2 separate regions of the Homo sapiens genome follow, and region 2 is linked to region 1. The links are contacts of gene promoters, found by promoter capture Hi-C in blood cells and fetal thymus (Javierre and others, 2016). All regions are on one chromosome and are shown on one strand. The core of a region is centred on a gene start or on the middle of the fragment in contact, and the rest is flanking DNA. Distances in the headings are between cores, read along the strand shown. Region 1 holds the start of DYDC1 (DPY30 domain containing 1). Region 2 overlaps SH2D4B (SH2 domain containing 4B).

Region 1 (2,966 bases), core at 411-2,910:
GAAGGAGTCAAGGGGATGCCTTTTATTTTTTATTTTTAAGAGAGAGCCTTGGTCTGTCGCCCAGGCTGGAGTGCAGTGGCACAATCTCGTCTTACTGCAATCTCTGCCTCCTTGGTTCAAGCAATTCCGCTGTCTCAGCCTCCTGAGGAGCTGGGATTACAGGTGTGCGCCACCACACCTGGCTAATTTTTGTATTTTTAGTAGAGATGGGGTTTCTCCATGTTGGCCAGGCTGGTTTTGAATTCCTCACCTCAGGTGATCCGCCCACCTCCGCCTCCCAAAGTGCTAGGATTACAGGCGGTGAGCCACCGCGCCTGGCCAAGGGGATGCCTTTTAAAGCCCACTCAGACCAACTTAGGGTACACTCACCAATGGGGGGAGAGGCTATTTTTCAGTGTTTCCCAGAGCTCCTCTGAGGGTCTGCTTACACAGTTCCTGGACTTGCACTCAGTAGGCAAGGTGATAAGAATAGGGGTTGTCTTTGTTTACTGTATACCGCCCACGCTTGGCACACTGGGAGCTCTGTAAATATTTCTTGACTTATTCATTGAGAGAGTTCTGCCACCTGCCCTCATGCTTCCCTTTGATTTTTCCACGCCCAATCTGGCATTTACTAGCTCAACTAACATCTATTAAGGCCTCTCTTGCCTGGCACTGCCCCGCCCATAAGCTGAAAGAGAGCACAGGAAAGGCTAGCACATGCACAGACGACTAGGCCAGGGAAGACTGCAAGGGTTTGGGCCTGGTGGAGACTGGACGGCTTCCCGGTGGTGGGGCACCCGAATTGGTTCTGAAAGGAACCAAGCAGAGGTCACCAGCAAGAGCAAAGGTGCAGAGTTGTGAAACTGCCAAGCTATTAGCAGCTTGCAGTGACGGTCTTCCAGGGACTCTGGAAGGTCTTCCACCCTTTTCCGATTGGCTGCCCTTCCTGGTTCCTCCTCAAAGCCCGCCACCTCTTTGTCTCTCCCAGAGCATGCCGGGCTGCCAGTCAGGGTCCCTTGCTCTTTTGTGTGCCCCTACTCCTCCAGGTTTCTGTGTAGCAAGTCTCCTCGGCTCACCCACCCCGCGCGCCTCCACATACGCCTTTCCTCGACCCCTCACGAGCACACGCCCGTCCCGCGTGCCCGCTCCTCTCTGCCTCCCGCCCCGATCCTACGCTCCCCCTCCTCCCTGGACCCCGCCCCCTGGAGCGCGCCCGCTTCTCTCTGCCACGCTCCCCTTCTTTCATTCCCTCTCCTCTCTGCCCGTTGCCCCCTCGTGCGCGCTCTCCCTCCTGCACACCGCCTCATCTCTGCCGCAGGCCCGACTCCTGAACGCCCCCTCCTCTCTGGCCCCCTCCCCTGGCGCGCGCCCCCTTCCGCACGACCCCTTCTCTCTGCCGGGCGCCCCGCGCCTGCACGCCCCCTCCTCTCTGCCGCGCCCCCTCTACTCTGCGGCGGGCTCCTACTCCTGCACGCCCCCTCCACTCTGCCGCGCCCCCTCTACTCTGCCGCGCCCCCTCTACTCTGCCGCCTGCTCCTACTCCTGCACGCCCTCTCCTCTCTGCTGCGCGTTCCCCCTTCGCTGCCCACCGCGTGCCCTCTGCTCACCTATCCGCGCGCCCCTTCCGCTTTGCGGCGCCTACACTGGCTCCTGAGGCGCGAGCTCTCGTTGCCTGGCAACGGGACGCCGCTCCTGGGTGGCGAGCAGGCGCGTGTGTAGGGGTGAGCGCACCGGAAAGGCCCGAACTGTTTTTGGGATTTGTTCCCCTAGCTTCGCTGGGTCCGGCGGGCAGAGGCGGTTCTGACCGTTGGGCCTTGGGCGTCGAGCAGGACTCACCTGAGGCGGAGAGAGGCCGCTTCGCGCCTGGGGCTCCCGAAAGCGGCCAGCTGTCCTCCTGCTCCCCCTGAGCGGGGAGCGCTGCGTCTCCTGCGGGCTGCGGGAGACCCTTCCAGACTCCCGGGTGGGAAAACCACACTGAGCGCCCCGGGAGGTTGCCAGATACAATACTGTATCTGGCACCCCTGCCCGGGTGCCCCCGCCCAGTTGGCTGGCTGGCTGGCTAGCTGTCTCCCAGGTGTGGGTAAGGAATCTCCTTCCATCTCTGTGGCACCTTCTTCACGCTGGAGGCAGCTGTTTCTGTGGGAAAGGGCTTTCTTATGTTGAGCCAAGATGCCTATTGGTGTATGTGAAAAATAACATTGCTTACCACAGGAGAGATGGGTATTATCCTCGTTTCACAGACAGGAACATGCTAAGGGAGTTGGCAGGCCTTGCCTGGGTCCCACTGATATGCCCAGAAATCCGAGACAGAGCCTCCCCTGACCTGGCCCCGCTGGTAGGCCAGAAGTTTTCTCTTTAGGGATAATGGTCCCCTTCCTCCCTTCCCACATTTTATCCTTCTGGAGCAGCAACAGGAGTCTGTGCACCTTTTTTTTTTTTTTTTTTTAACTTCACTTCAAATGACTTTGAGATGTCTGTGTAGCGTTTTGGTCTTTCAGGTATATCCTACTGAAGAAATACAGTGAAGATACTGTGTTCCAAAGTCAGTTGTAATAATTCTTTTCTCTGTATGGTTGAGACACCAATATCAACCTCATTTGGAATTAGGTTCATTTGTGCCAGTTTGTTTTCCGTTTTTAGAGTTTTTATGACTATGTTTACATATACACACATACACATTCCTTTCCCCACTGCTGTTGCTAATACAAAAGATGACAGACCATATACAATTTCAGCACCTCGTTTTCTTTATTCTGTGTCTTAGAGATCACTCTCTAGTTTCTTCATTCTCTTGTACATCTGCATAATAATCCATTGTGTTGCTCTTATTAATCCCCAATTTGATGAACATTTAGATGGTGCTTCAGTGTGACTATTGTAAATAATGCTGCAAATAACTGTGTGCATATGCCATTTCATATTTTTGCAACTATATCTTTGAGATAGGATCCAAGAAGCAAGATTGATGAGTCAAAGGGTGAATG
Region 2 (3,133 bases), core at 60-2,559, 280 kb before region 1:
TTCCAACACGTAGAAATCAACCTTGATCCTGGTTAGTCCAGTTTCCAGGCAGTACTCCACACTCAGTGCCCGAGTATCTGTGAATAGGTGATTCTCCATGTGTATTATTCATAAGGTCAAGGGCTGTCCCTGAATTTCTAGGGACTTCCATGAAGAGACAAAGAGAAAGCAATACAAACCTAAGAGTCCCTATTATACCAAAACCCCAGTGAGACCGTCAAGTCATTCTGTGAAACCATCTACACCCACAAAGCTTGGTTAGATGTCGGACGCCGGAGCTACCACCACTCTGCCCCTCGGAATCCTTCGTCCTGCCCTTCCAGGTCACTGAGTTCCACCTCTGGCTTTCTCCCAGTTACTAATGATGCCAACGGCCACACGAACATAAACGTTGCTTCTTACTACATACACTGCTTGGAAGACAACATCTTTTCCAATATAGGGTCCATGGCAGGAGGACAAATAACAAAAAGAATGCTGAGAAACAAGACTTTCCATAAGCACTTCACAGTCACAAAGCGCTGCTCTGTACTTGACTTCATTTAATGCTCACAGGGTCCGAGCTAAGTATTATTCACATCCATTTGCCTGGCTAGGACGCTGACGTTTGGTGAGACTAAGGTGCTGGCTCAAGGTCACACATGTACTAAGTGGTTAAGCTGGAGTTCAAATAAGAGACATGGTAACTCCACCACTAGAAAAGCTTCTCTAATCACAGGGTTGCCTACTGCACTTCAGCTAACTCTCAGAAGCTGCTAGAGGTCTGGCTTGGAGGTCCTCATGAGAGACGTTCTTGGGAATGAGTTGGAGATGAGACCCAGGCTTGGAGAAAGGGATGATCATCCAGTCCTTGTGTTAACAGGAGGGAGCACTCAGGTACCCAAGGTGAGAAGAGGCCTGAGGACCAGGGTGAGAGGTGCCCGCATGCCCCAGAGAGTGAAGCAGAGAGCAGAACAGTGGGCCCTCGGGCCCCGTGTGGACAACCTCTGGTCTCTTCTGCCCTGATGCTCTACATCTCTGAGACCCTCCAGCCCCACTGCCCAGAGCCAGCAGCCTTGCTTCTCTTGCTCTAGCTCTCTCTTCAGCTCCAATTTCCACCAGTTCCCCCTCCCCCCCATTAGTATCCCTGTGAGGGATACCTTATGGAAATCAACGAGATCCGTGAGCGTTGCATGGCGATTGGGGTCCACTCCCAGGAAGCTGTAAAAATCCCCAGAAGCATCCACAAGAAAGTGTTTGAACCCTTTCTGCAGGCGGTAGGAGAGGGTGTAACCCCAGATTTTCTCACTGACCCGGACCAGGAATGCTCCCTCAGTCATGTTCTCCAGGAGAGCTTCTGCATCTTCTCGGCTAATAATTCCTGATTTAAAATAGAAAAAAACAAAAAAACACAGCAGGTTCTGCGACTGCCTCCCCCACGATTCTCCACTCCTCCCTGCCCCTCACCCTGTGGCTCAGTGCACATGCCATCCACACAGTCCAGGGTGGCAGGAAGGAAAGAGCCCCAAGGGCTGGCCAAGCACATGCCTCCTTCCACAGAGAGGGCATCTTGGCCCAGCGCCACCCGCCGTGAGCCTGGGGGCAGAGTTTCTACTAGGACGTGAGTTGAGCATGCTTTCCTCCACATTGAGCCAGGGTGATTTGGATTAATTGGGTAAGCAAGGAATTAGTAGTGAGCTGTGATTATAGCATTATTGATTATAAATATAAGTCAACAGGCTTGTGAAAAGCCTTAAGAGGCCTGCTTTAAAGACTAGTCCAGAATGGCTGCTGATGACTAACTCACTTATTTCTCTAGTACCATAAATAAGCACCTAAAAATAGGGGTTTCCCTTAAAAAGTAAAAAGACTTCTTCCAAATACCTGTGGACACCAGGCAAAAAGTTTCTTAATAGGGGCATAGAATCAAGCTTCACTTCAGCTCAGAGATCAAAACTTTCTAAGGACTTGCACTCCTACACAATGCAGTTTCATCACAATTTGGAATTCTGGTTGGCCTTGGAGTCGTTGATATGCTGGTAGCAATCCCCTGAAATGCTCTCAGGAAGCCGCTGTCATCTGGGTGATATAGGAGGCGTGATGTAGAACAGGTTCCAGAGGCAAGTAGGTGGGAAGAGGAGGGGAAGCCAGAAGACCTGGATTACCCCCACCCCCGACCTCTGCCAACCTGGCTATGGAATTTCCAGCCAAGCCCTCAAGGTCTCCAGTGTCCTTTGACATTTAGATGATCATAACCCAAATACTTAGAAGGTATGTTATGACTTTCAAGTTGAATAAAGTATTCAAACTCATTTCATACATAGAGAATAGCTGTGGAGATGCTGGATCCTGTTAGCATCTGTTATTCTGGAGGAGAGGTGAATTGCAACACATTGTCCCTTTGCTCACCCATGGACTTACCCTTTCCACACTATCAGTGACAGGCATGGGGACAGAGTGGCTGGGCTGCCCATCTCCATGACCCTGAGAGGCTCAGCACACCTGTGACTTCTCCCCAATCCCCGAAGCCACTCCCGAGCGAGCCGCAGTCAGGCTCCCCTCCCATCACTCTCCTGCCTCCCAGGGCACACTCGAGACTTCCCTTGTGCCCAAGGCATAGGACACAGAGGCAACCACACTGCCAAATGCTGCACCCTTTAAAGACAATTGGCGCAACCAGGGGCCACCTATTTCCTCCTTGCCCAGGATTTACAGCAAGAGGCATCCAAGCCAGCCACCCCTCCCCAGCCAAGCTCTACAAGCAGAAAAGGAAGAAGAGTAAGACAAGGAAGGAAGTGAGGAGCCCTTTCGCCACAGGACACCTGAAAAATAAACACTGGCCCATGCAAGAGGGAGGATGCACCCCGCTGCTTCCCCCCAGAAGGCCTTGGGGGCTTCATGCAAAAAAGTAGGGACAGACAAAAGAGGACCGGAAGGGAAAGTCCAGGATCCCTCAAAAGTTGGCACTGTCCTTCACCTACCTCCCTGCCCCAACACCAGAACACCCGGGCCCTAAAAGAGGCTGCAGCAGGGAGATAAGTAAGGGGGGCCAGACGCAGGGCCAGGGCCTGGGAGGAAGAGGGACCAGAAGATGTCACCCTCATCCCCACTCCAAGCACCTCAAGCTGATATGGTAGCGGGGCTAGGGTTGGAG

The links. Contacts are between HindIII fragments. The CHiCAGO score rates a contact against its expected background, and 5 or more counts as called.
Region 2: a contact is called between a fragment that was not itself captured here and the fragment with the promoter of DYDC1 in region 1, in 1 of 17 cell types (non-activated CD4 T cells). The highest score is 5.3, in non-activated CD4 T cells.

The regions. Positions count from the first base shown.
Region 1 is chr10:80,355,449-80,358,414 of GRCh38, reverse strand. DYDC1 (DPY30 domain containing 1) reads left to right here and starts at 1,660. Exons shown (of 7, transcript NM_001269053.2): 1 at 1,660-1,703. It overlaps DYDC2 (DPY30 domain containing 2), which reads right to left and starts at 1,634. Exons shown (of 5, transcript NM_032372.6): 1 at 1,590-1,634; 2 at 370-522. The HindIII fragment of the contact is 3,945 bases long and covers 1-2,966 here.
Region 2 is chr10:80,632,512-80,635,644 of GRCh38, reverse strand. It overlaps SH2D4B (SH2 domain containing 4B), which reads right to left. Exons shown (of 8, transcript NM_001388272.1): 7 at 1,140-1,360. The region is part of intron 1 of LOC105378387 (a long non-coding RNA gene); the gene reads left to right. Among named protein-coding and RNA genes, the nearest start is that of LINC02655, 16 kb to the left of the region's middle. The HindIII fragment of the contact is 1,207 bases long and covers 706-1,912 here.